Linked DNA regions of Homo sapiens: region 1 is linked to region 2. The links are contacts of gene promoters, found by promoter capture Hi-C in human tissues and cell types (Jung and others, 2019). All regions are on one chromosome and are shown on one strand. Each heading gives the region's core, a stretch centred on a gene start or on the middle of the fragment in contact. The rest is flanking DNA. Distances are from core to core; before and after follow the strand shown.

What was found. The method cuts DNA at HindIII sites, captures the fragments that hold promoters and counts their contacts. A contact is called where the count stands out against the background at its distance.
Region 1: a fragment that was not itself captured here is called in contact with the fragment with the promoter of SLC25A2 in region 2 in 1 of the 25 tissues and cell types used here (hippocampus).

Annotation. Positions count from the first base shown.
Region 1 is chr5:141,576,664-141,581,780 of GRCh38, reverse strand. It overlaps DIAPH1 (diaphanous related formin 1), which reads left to right. Exons shown (of 28, transcript NM_005219.5): 8 at 898-1,037; 9 at 2,585-2,693; 10 at 3,156-3,266; 11 at 3,438-3,556; 12 at 4,190-4,306; 13 at 4,910-5,025. Among named protein-coding and RNA genes, the nearest start is that of DIAPH1-AS1, 21 kb to the right of the region's middle. The HindIII fragment of the contact is 3,959 bases long and covers 1,414-5,117 here.
Region 2 is chr5:141,301,317-141,306,765 of GRCh38, reverse strand. It overlaps SLC25A2 (solute carrier family 25 member 2), which reads left to right and starts at 2,717. Exons shown (of 1, transcript NM_031947.4): 1 at 2,717-4,131. The coding sequence starts at 2,901. The coding sequence ends at 3,806. The HindIII fragment of the contact is 6,230 bases long and covers 1-5,449 here.

The sequences.
Region 1 (5,117 bases), core at 2,144-4,643, 270 kb before region 2:
GCCCGGCCTGTTTCTTTACTTTCTTTTGCTAATTCTTGAATTTCCTGACCTGTAGTTATTGTCTCTGCAATATTTGCTTTATTTCCTGTTTCTTTTTTCTTCTAGACTGTTGCTCCATTTTTATCTTCTTTTTGTCTGTTTAGTAATTCAACCTAGTGAGCCCACAGTCCTGTGCCTCTGAGGACAAATCTCTCTTCCTCATTGTTTAATTTTGTTATAATTAACTTATTCCATTGGATTGCGGGGAGAGAATTAACAAGAAACATATAAATCAAAGACTTTTATTCTTGGAAGACATCTAATTCTGTTGTGCCTCCTAGAAAATTATTTTGGTATGTTCATCTCTAATTATATTGGGAAAAGTATTCTACCCCTGTATTAATTTGCTAGTGTACCACAAAATTAGATATCTTAACAGAAATTTATTATCTCACAATTCTAGAGGCTAGAATTTCAAAATCCAAGGTACCAGCACGGTTGGTTCTTTCTGAAGCTGTATATGGTAATATGTTCCATATCCCTCCTAGTTTCTGGTAGCTTGTTGGCAATCCTTGGCACTCCTTATCTTGTAGATGCATCATCCTGATCTCTGCCTATGTGATCACATGGTGTTCTCCCTCTGTATGTATCCATATCCAAATTTCCTCTTTTTATAAGGACACTGGTCATATTGGATTAAGGACCCTTTCTACCCCAGCAGGACTTCATTGTAGCTTGACTAATTATATTTGCAATGAGTATATTTCCAGATGAGGTTACATTTTGAGGTACTGGGGGTTGGGACTTCAACACTGGAATTTAAGAGGACACCATTCAACCCATAACAACCCGTAAACTTGTCCCCCAGTTAGATGCTTTCGTCTTTCAGCCTCCTTTCTTTGTTCTTGGTCCTACCAGTTTGGAATCAAGACCATGTTGGAGACAGAAGAAGGAATCCTACTGCTGGTCAGAGCCATGGATCCTGCTGTTCCCAACATGATGATTGATGCAGCTAAGCTGCTTTCTGCTCTTTGTATTCTACCGCAGCCAGAGGACATGTATGTGACTGGAATAATTTTTCTTCTCCATTTTCAATTTTATCATTTTCTCTTAGTTCAGAGGACAATTGAGTTGGTTGGGTGTCCTCTCGGTCATAAATACTAGGTAAGATTGTGTTTCTTCCCAGAAGTGAACACTAAGCATCTTAAAATTTAAGAACAATTCCTAAGTGATGGGTGCTATCCTGAATGTTCCACTGGTCATCAGAGGTATAGCAAAATGTCTCCTATATCTCCATTAATATCTGTATTGTCTAGGATGAGGGTTTCTTTTTACTATTCTTTTTTTTTTTAATTCAGAAGTGGCACAATGTTATTTTTAAAACTCAAACGATATAGAAGTATATAAAGTAAAATTTAACTGCCTCATCCCTTTGCCAAATCCTATTCTGCAAAGAGAATGACTGTTAATGGCATGGTATAGTCTCATAGAACGTTTCCTAAGCATAGACAAACATATTGCGTTCCCTTGATTCTAGACATCTGCCACCGCAAAAGATAGTATCTTAAGAGCTGAGGAATGACACTTATGCCTATAAAACTAACTGCATATATAGGATAGATTTTTATTATTGAAGAGGGATTTGGTTTAACCAAAGCTAAATCATTCTTTTCAACCTGTTTCTTTTTAATAGTAGATCTTGGACATTTCTTCTATGTCGGTACTTACAGATCTACCTTATTATCTTTAGTAGCTATTTAGTATTCCATATACATGTATGTATGGCCTATAATTTATTTAACAATTCCCCTGTTGCTGGACTTACAGATTTTTTTTTTTTCCTTTTTTTTTTTTGAGACGGAGGCTCGCTCTGTTCCCCAGGCTGGAGTGCAGTGGCGCGATCTCGGCCCACTGCAAACTCCTCCTCCCAGGTTCAAGCGATTCTCCTTCCTCAGCCTCCCGAGTAGCTGGGACTACAGGAGTCCGCCACCACGCCTGGCTAATTTTTGTATTTTTAGTAGAGATGGGGTTTCTCCCTATTGGCCAGGCTGGTCTCGAACTCCTGACCTTGTGATCCGCCCGCCTCGGCCTCCCAAAGTGCTAGGATTACAAGCGTGAGCCACTGCGCCCAGCCAACTTACAGATATTTTTTAAAGCAGATTTCACTATCTGTTCTAGGTGATCATTTTTACAAATGATACTGCAGTGAACATCCTTGTGCATATCTTCTTTCACATTTATGCCCATATGTTGGATACATTTCTAGAAGTAGACTATATGTTACATGCATGAGAAATTGATTAGTACTGTTAAATGCCCCTCCAAAAGTTGTATCAATTTATACTTCATTGAATAGGGGACTTGATTTGGTATTTATGGACAGGAGCCTAGGGATGGATTGTAGGGAATGCATTTCCCTGAAGAGATGGTCCTTAGCTTTCAGCAGTTTCTGGAAACTGAGTGGTGAGAATAATAATGTGAGAAATCCGGAACACTGATAATGTCCTGTTTCCTAATCGGTCTGTGCCCCTGTGTAATTTACTCATTATACGTGTCCGTGTCACAGTACCTGGAAAGTTCTCTCCGTTTCCTTTCTCTTGGGCAGGAATGAAAGGGTTTTGGAGGCAATGACAGAAAGAGCTGAGATGGATGAAGTGGAACGTTTCCAGCCGCTGCTGGATGGATTAAAAAGTGGAACCACTATTGCACTGAAGGCATGTATATCCCCTGAAACTGGGCCCAAGAATAGAATTCAAGATGGACAGACTTAAATTCATTTGACCTTTTAATAAAATACATGGAGTGCCTCCCAACTATATATTTTACATTTCAGAATCTGTTATGAAGGGAAAATGATTAACCTTCTTTCTAAGAAGGTAAAGAATGAACTGTTTTCCTCATTATGAGATGGAAAAAGGCATGATATCTATTTACAATCTAGGAAAACCAAGACCTACAATAACATATACTCTCAAATCCTTGAAACCATTTAGAGTTTAGGCTCTCCGGATCTGTACTCAAACCAGGTCTCATTGCTATAGTAGAAAAGTCATCTTTAGAGTTTTTGTATTGTATCTTTCAGGTTGTATTGGGGACCTAAGAATGCATGTAAAGAAAATGGATTCTTGATCTCCAGGAGTTAGCATTGACATAGCTGCTGAATTTTCTTATTTTAGGTTGGATGCCTACAGCTGATCAATGCTCTCATCACACCAGCGGAGGAACTTGACTTCCGAGTTCACATCAGAAGTGAACTGATGCGTTTGGGGCTACATCAGGTGTTGCAGGTAAGATATTACACTTCATTAGAAAGGCTAGACTGGTTCCTTCTTGCTCTACAGCCCCAATAATCCCGGGGATAATTCTGGTTTTCAATTAAAAACCAGGTTGAAAAGCTTAGGTTTCTAACCACAGAGGATACTTTTGGGTTCCCTGACTTCTACTTTTGTTGTTGACAGGACCTTCGAGAGATTGAAAATGAAGATATGAGAGTGCAACTAAATGTGTTTGATGAACAAGGGGAAGAGGATTCCTATGACCTGAAGGGACGGCTGGATGACATTCGCATGGAGATGGAATATCCTTTTGCTGACTAGGTTCAAGGCAGATGAGACATTCATTGTATTTAGTTCCCTGATCCCTGTGTGGAATGGTTTGGGAGATGATGACTCAGAACAGAGCATCAGGCTTATGTGTCTTCTCATTAAATAAGGCAGGTGTATTTTTATTGCGCTGGCTTTACTTAGCTTATCATAGATCAGGGAAGTCAGTAAAGGTGATCTGAGGGTTGTTGAGCATGGAAGCCATCAAAATCAGTGTAAACTTCCTAGAATGTGATAGCTTAGCTTACTAAGATGTAGAACTGGCTTTTAGAGATGTTTGGACTGACAGAGGGAGTAATTTAGTTACCTGTTAATATTTTCAGTAAGTGACTTTGAGGCAGTTACCTCTTATTTTCTGTCTACTGCCTGATCTTCAAGCCAAGTACTTACTAGGAATCCTCTGTGTGTATAGTACCACCCAATTCACTGGTCCCTTAAAGGACGTTTTAGAAAGCTTAAAGTTTCTGGTGATGTTTACAGGAAGAACAGCCAGTAGAATGGAAGTGGTGTCTTGCTACTTTTCCCTAGCTTTTTCAAGAGTTAAATAAGCCACCTGTCAAACATAATTTCTGCATATTTGCTTTCCTTAGCCTATTTCCCTTTTCCACTGACTTTAATGAAGTCTTTCAGATTCTCTTAAACACAGTGAAGGATTCAAAGGCAGAGCCACACTTCCTTTCCATCCTGCAGCACTTACTCTTGGTCCGAAATGACTATGAGGCCAGGTAAGATGCTGTGCTTATGAGAAGTTTTGAATTTGAGCCTAAGTGGAGAGAGTGAATTCCTTAAATTCAAAGATTGTTCTGTAAAAGGAAAATGTAAAGACAAAGACCCAAGATTAGGGTTCATTAGTCACCGATATAAAGGAAGTTGTCTTATTTCTTTAATCCAACTCAAAGGCATCCCTATGGCAGAGGTCAGAGTGTATAAGGTGAAATGCCGTTCTGTTTTTGGAGGGGAGTAGGTAAATAGGATGAAGATGTTAGCAAACAGAAGTGGCAATTTAAAATTCTTTCTAGTTTCCTGGAAGTATAGATTTAGCAATAGCACTATCCATCACAGGAAGGATCAAACGCAAATTTTTAGATGGGAAAGTATTGGCACTAGGAGCGGATGGCAAGAAGTTTTGATTATTTGAAGTAGATAGGGTAGGGTAGCTGATGTGGAAAAAGGAGTTTTCTTAGCATGGCAGCAATACTTGTGTTAACTTTACAAAAGTTTTTCCAGGTCTCTCAGTTGTCAGAGCAATTACGTTTTCTTGGTCCTGAATACTTCTGAAAATTATATTTTGATTTTCCTTTGATGACCCTGTTTTTATTCTCTTGTAGACCTCAGTACTATAAGTTGATTGAAGAATGTATTTCCCAGATAGTTCTGCACAAGAACGGGGCTGATCCTGACTTCAAGTGCCGGCACCTCCAGATTGAGATTGAGGGATTAATTGGTAAGCATACTCTTCTATCTGGCTCCTCCAAGTATTGCTTCTTCCTTTCATTTTGCATCTTGTTTCAGTGAAAATGTCAGAGAAGATACCTT
Region 2 (5,449 bases), core at 1,468-3,967:
GTTGTGAATAGTGCTTCCATAAACATATGAGTGTAGATGTTTTCTGGTTTTTTTTTTGGAGACAGGGTCTTGTTTTGCCACCCAGGCTGGATCATAACTCACTGCAGCCTCCAACTCAGCTCAGTCAATCCTCCCATCTCCGCCTCCTGTGTAGCTGCCACTACAGGGGCATGCCATCATGCATGGCTACTTTTTGTATTTTTTTGTAGAGATGGCATTTTGCCATGTTGTCCAGGCTGGTCTGGAGCTCCTGGGCTCAAGCGATCTACCTGGCTTGGGCTCCCAAAATTCTGGGATTACAGGTGTAAGTCACTGTCCCCAGCACAGGTGTCTTTTTGATAAAATGATTTCTTTTCCTTTGGGTAGATACCTAATAGTGGGATTGCTGGGTTGAATGGGTGTTCTATTTTTAGTTCTTTGAGAAATCTCCATACTGCTTTCCATAGGGGTTGAACTATTTTACATTCCCACCAACAGTGTACAAACGACAAATTTCTACTTCTGCATGAGGCTGTGTGGGTCCTCAAAGAGAATCTCAAAACTTAGAAAGCATAGTGCTGAGCCACCCAGCTCTTTTCTATCAAGTTTCTTAGCAATGCAGTATATAAATACTATCCATTTTCCAAGTTGATTTTATAGTGCCGTGTTCTATCTTCAGAAATGATAAGGACTCCACGTTCCACCAGTTCCCAGGGCTGCAACCCCAGATCCTTGGGGATGTTGCCATGTGATAGCATTTCTCCAGCTCTGCAGGAAAGCAGTAGCACATCTCCAGGGCTAAGGATTCCCACAGTGCCCTACTCCCCTCCTTGCCCCCCAGGAAAGTGAGGAGCGTGGGCAGATCGCTGAGGGTTTTCTGATCAAAAGCAGTCACTGTCTCTCATGTAGCAACCCTCAGATCGTTTCGTTACCGGACAGGGGTCCCGATCCAGACCCAAGAGATTGTTCTTGGATCTCATGCAAGAAATAATTTGGGGCAAGTTCATAGAGTCAAGTGAAAGCAAGTTTATTAGAGAAGTAAAGAAGCAAAAGAATGGCTACTCCATAGGCACAGCAGTGGCCTGGGCGGCTTGACTAAGGATACTTACAGTTTTTTATTGAATGTAAGCTAAACAAGGGGTGGATTATTCATGAGGTTTCTGGGAAAGGGGTCCAAAGTTACCGGAACTGAGGATTCCTCCCCCTTTTTAGACCACATAGGGTCACTTCTTATTGTTGCCATGGCATCTGTAAGTGGACACGGCGCTGGTGGGCGTGTCTTTTAGCATGCTAATGCATTATAATTGGCGTATAATGAGCAGTAAGGACGACCAGAGGTCACTTATTATGCCATCTTGATTCTGGTGGGATTTGGCTGGCTTCTTTACTGAAACCTGTTTTATCAGCAAGGTCTTTGTGACCCGTATCTTGTGCCGGCCTCCTATCTCATCCTGTGACTTAGAATGCCTGTCTTCCTGGGAATGCAGTCCAGTAGGTCTCGGCCTTATTTTACTCAGTCCCTAGTCAAGATGGAGTTGCTGTGGTTCCAGCGCCTCTGACAGTTTGTCTTCTCTACTTTATTTTTTGTAGGGGGTAAGGGGTGTCTCATTTTGCTGCCCAAGCTAGCCTTGAACTCCTAGGCTCAAATGAGCCTCCCTCCGCAGCCTCTCCAAGTGTTGGGATTACAGGCATGAGCCACCACACCTGGCCTGTCTTATCTACTTTAAAGCAGTTTTCTTGTAGATTGACCCTCTGAATTCAGGGTCTATTCAAGTGAGGGCATCTTCTTTTCGGGTTGTTTGTTTTTGTTTTTTGCATGGTAAGAAGCGTGGGATAGGCCGGGTGTGGTGGTTCATGCTTGTAAGCCCCAACACTTTGGGAGGCCAGTGGGTGGATTGCTTGAGTTCAGGAGTTCGAGACTAGCCTGGGCAACATGGCGAAACCCCGTCTGTACAATACAAAATTTAGCCAGATGTGGTGGCTTGCGCCTGTAGTCCCTCTAGTCTCAGCTACTCAGGAGGCTGAGGTGAGAGGATCGCCTGAGGCCAGGAGATTGGGGCTGCAGTGAGCCAGGATCGCGCCACTGAACTCCAGCTTAGGCGGCCGAGTGAGACCCTAAGTCAAAAAAAAAAAAAAGAGAGAAAAGAAAAGAAGCAGGGCTGACTGATTAGGACAGCATTTCTTTTGCCGCCAGCTGAACTGCGGCGTCTAGAGTTCCCGGCCATAATTGCAAGAATTTATCGAAAAGCTTTACATGTTTTCTTGGTTTTGGTTTTGTTTTGAGACAGAGCCTCACCCTTTCGCCCACCCTGGAGTGCAGTGTGCGATCATAGCTCACTGCAGCATCGACCTCCCGGGTTCAAGCGATCCTCGCTTCATTCTCCTGAATTGCTGGGACCACAGGCGCGCGCCATCGCGCCCGGGTATTTTTTCGTTTTTGTAGAAATGGAGTCTTGCCATATTGCCCAGGCTGGTCTCGATCTCCTGGGCTCAAGCGATCCTCCCGCCTCGGCCTCCCAAAGTGCTGGGATACAGGAGTGAGCCACCGCGCCCAGTCGCAGTACACTAAAAGTATTTATTCGGTCCGCGTCCCCCGCCTGCGGGTGCAGGGATGGCGGCTCCAGGCTGGAGGCGGCTGGGGGCCCGGCCAGTGCGCCAGGAGCCGCAGGAACGCTAGTGAGCCGCGCGCTGGGCCGGCAGCTGGGGGTTATTTTAGTGCGCGGGGAGGGGGCGGCCCGCGGCGGAGCGTAGGGTTGAGCGGCTTCCCCCGCACTGGGGTGAGAGCCCAGAACAGGCGGTAGAGCCACCCCACCACCCCCAACTCCATTCCCCGCGCTCGCTGCGGCTGGACGTGAAAAGCCGGTCTCACGCTCTGGGGAGTTAGTCGCCTTCCACTGGGACCCTCAGACGAGTGAGCGAACATGAAGTCCGGTCCTGGCATCCAAGCCGCCATCGACCTCACAGCGGGGGCCGCAGGGGGGACAGCGTGTGTACTGACTGGGCAGCCCTTCGACACAATAAAAGTGAAGATGCAGACGTTCCCTGACCTGTACAAGGGCCTCACCGACTGCTTCCTGAAGACATACGCTCAAGTGGGTCTCCGGGGCTTCTACAAGGGCACCGGCCCGGCACTTATGGCCTACGTCGCCGAAAACTCGGTCCTCTTCATGTGCTACGGGTTCTGCCAGCAGTTTGTCAGGAAAGTGGCTGGAATGGACAAGCAGGCAAAGCTGAGTGATCTCCAGACTGCAGCCGCGGGGTCCTTCGCCTCTGCATTTGCTGCACTGGCTCTCTGCCCCACTGAGCTTGTGAAGTGCCGGCTACAGACCATGTATGAAATGGAGATGTCAGGGAAGATAGCAAAAAGCCATAATACAATTTGGTCTGTCGTGAAGGGTATCCTTAAAAAGGATGGCCCCTTGGGCTTCTACCATGGACTCTCGAGTACTCTACTTCAAGAAGTACCGGGTTATTTCTTTTTCTTTGGTGGCTATGAACTGAGCCGATCGTTTTTTGCGTCAGGGAGATCAAAAGATGAACTAGGCCCTGTCCATTTGATGTTAAGTGGTGGAGTTGCTGGAATTTGCCTGTGGCTTGTCGTGTTCCCAGTGGATTGTATTAAATCCAGAATTCAAGTTCTTTCCATGTATGGGAAACAGGCAGGATTTATTGGTACCCTCTTAAGTGTTGTGAGAAATGAAGGAATAGTAGCCTTATATTCTGGACTGAAAGCTACTATGATTCGAGCAATCCCTGCCAATGGGGCACTGTTTGTGGCCTACGAATACAGCAGGAAGATGATGATGAAACAGTTGGAAGCATACTGAAGTGTCTTGGTGAACCTGGATCCGAGTCCATGAGTTTGAGGACTACAGTTCATCACAGGGTTCAGCAGAGTACAAGACCACTGTCTAATTTTGACTTCATGGGAATTTTGGTTTTATCTTCCCTTCTTCTACCCTAAATCTTAACTTTATGGAAGGGCCTCTATTTTACATCATATAATTTCTGCCCATAATTGTATTGAAATAGGAAAGTTGCTGCTCTTGCACTTGCTGGAATGTACAGGGTGGGCTGGTTGGCCCTATGTACCTAATCTGAAAAACTAAATATCGTTCTGTCAGGGCCTTTGCATAAAGCCATTTGTGTGTACATGCAGTTTGGATGATTCTATGTCGTGAGTGAAACAATTTAGTTCTATATATAATCTCAAATATCAGCCCCCCAAACCCAGAATTGACCATATTTTGTGAAGATAGGTATGAATGATTACTTAGGATCACTCTCTCTTTTTTTCTTTTTTTTTGGAGACAGAGTCTCACTCTGTCGCCCAGGCTGGAGTGCTGTGGCATGATCTTGGCTCACTGCAACCTCTGCCTGCCTGGTTCAAGCGATTCTCCTGCCTCAGCCTCCCGAGTTGCTGGGATTACAGGTGCCCGCCACCATGCCCAGCTAATTTTTGTATTTTTAGTAGGGATGGGGTTTCACCATGTTAGCCAGGCTGGTCTCGAACTCCTGACCTCAGGTGATCCACCCAGCTCAGCCTCCCAAAGTGATGGGATTATAGGCATGAGACACCGCACCCGGCCAGGATCTCTTTTAAAGTCTGCTTAACATGCGCACTACATTAGGCGGTTCAAGTTTTGAAACATCTTCATGTGGTGCTTGATACCAAAATACTCCTCTCTCTCTCTCTCTCTCATATATATATATATATGAGAAAAAGTATATATATATATATACTTTTTTTTTTTGAGATGCAGTCTCACTCTTGTTGCCCAGGCTGGAGTGCAGTGGCACGATCTTGGCTCACTGCAACCTCCGCCTCCTGGGTTCAAGTGATTCTTCTACCTCAGCCTCCCAAGTAGCTGGGACTACAGGTGCACGCCACCACACCCGGCTAACTTTTGTGTTTTTAGTAGAGATGGGGCTTTGCCATGTTGGCCAGGCTCGTCATGAACTCCTAACCTCAGGTGATCCACCCGCCTAGGCCTCCCAAAGTTCTGGGATCACAGGTGTGAGCCGCTGCGCCTGGCCTCATCTATATTTTTAAGAGGAGAAGGTACCTGCATACCAGTGTGGCTTTGACATTCTTGAGTTAAAAGTTTCAGAGTAAGCATTGTGGATTTTCCCAAGAAACAATACCCTTAATATAGTGTTATCCATTTTCAAAGTGGGATTATATTCTGCACTCTGCCTATATGGTTAGGGATGATCTAGAGTATCATCAGGCCTTGGGGAATCCACACAGCCTTCCTGCGCCAGCTTCCGTTCTCCCCCTCAAACGAGCTGGGCTTTAGTTCGAGGAAGGAGCTGTGCACCTCTGCTTTGATGAAGACCCATGTGGCTGATAACAGTTCTTAGCTTCCAGTCTCTGGGTCCTGGCCTGGGTAGGACTCAAGGGTGTTCTATCGGCCCATTTAGAGGTTGTTGATTCATTTTGGGTCACTCACTGTCCTTTCTGCCTCCA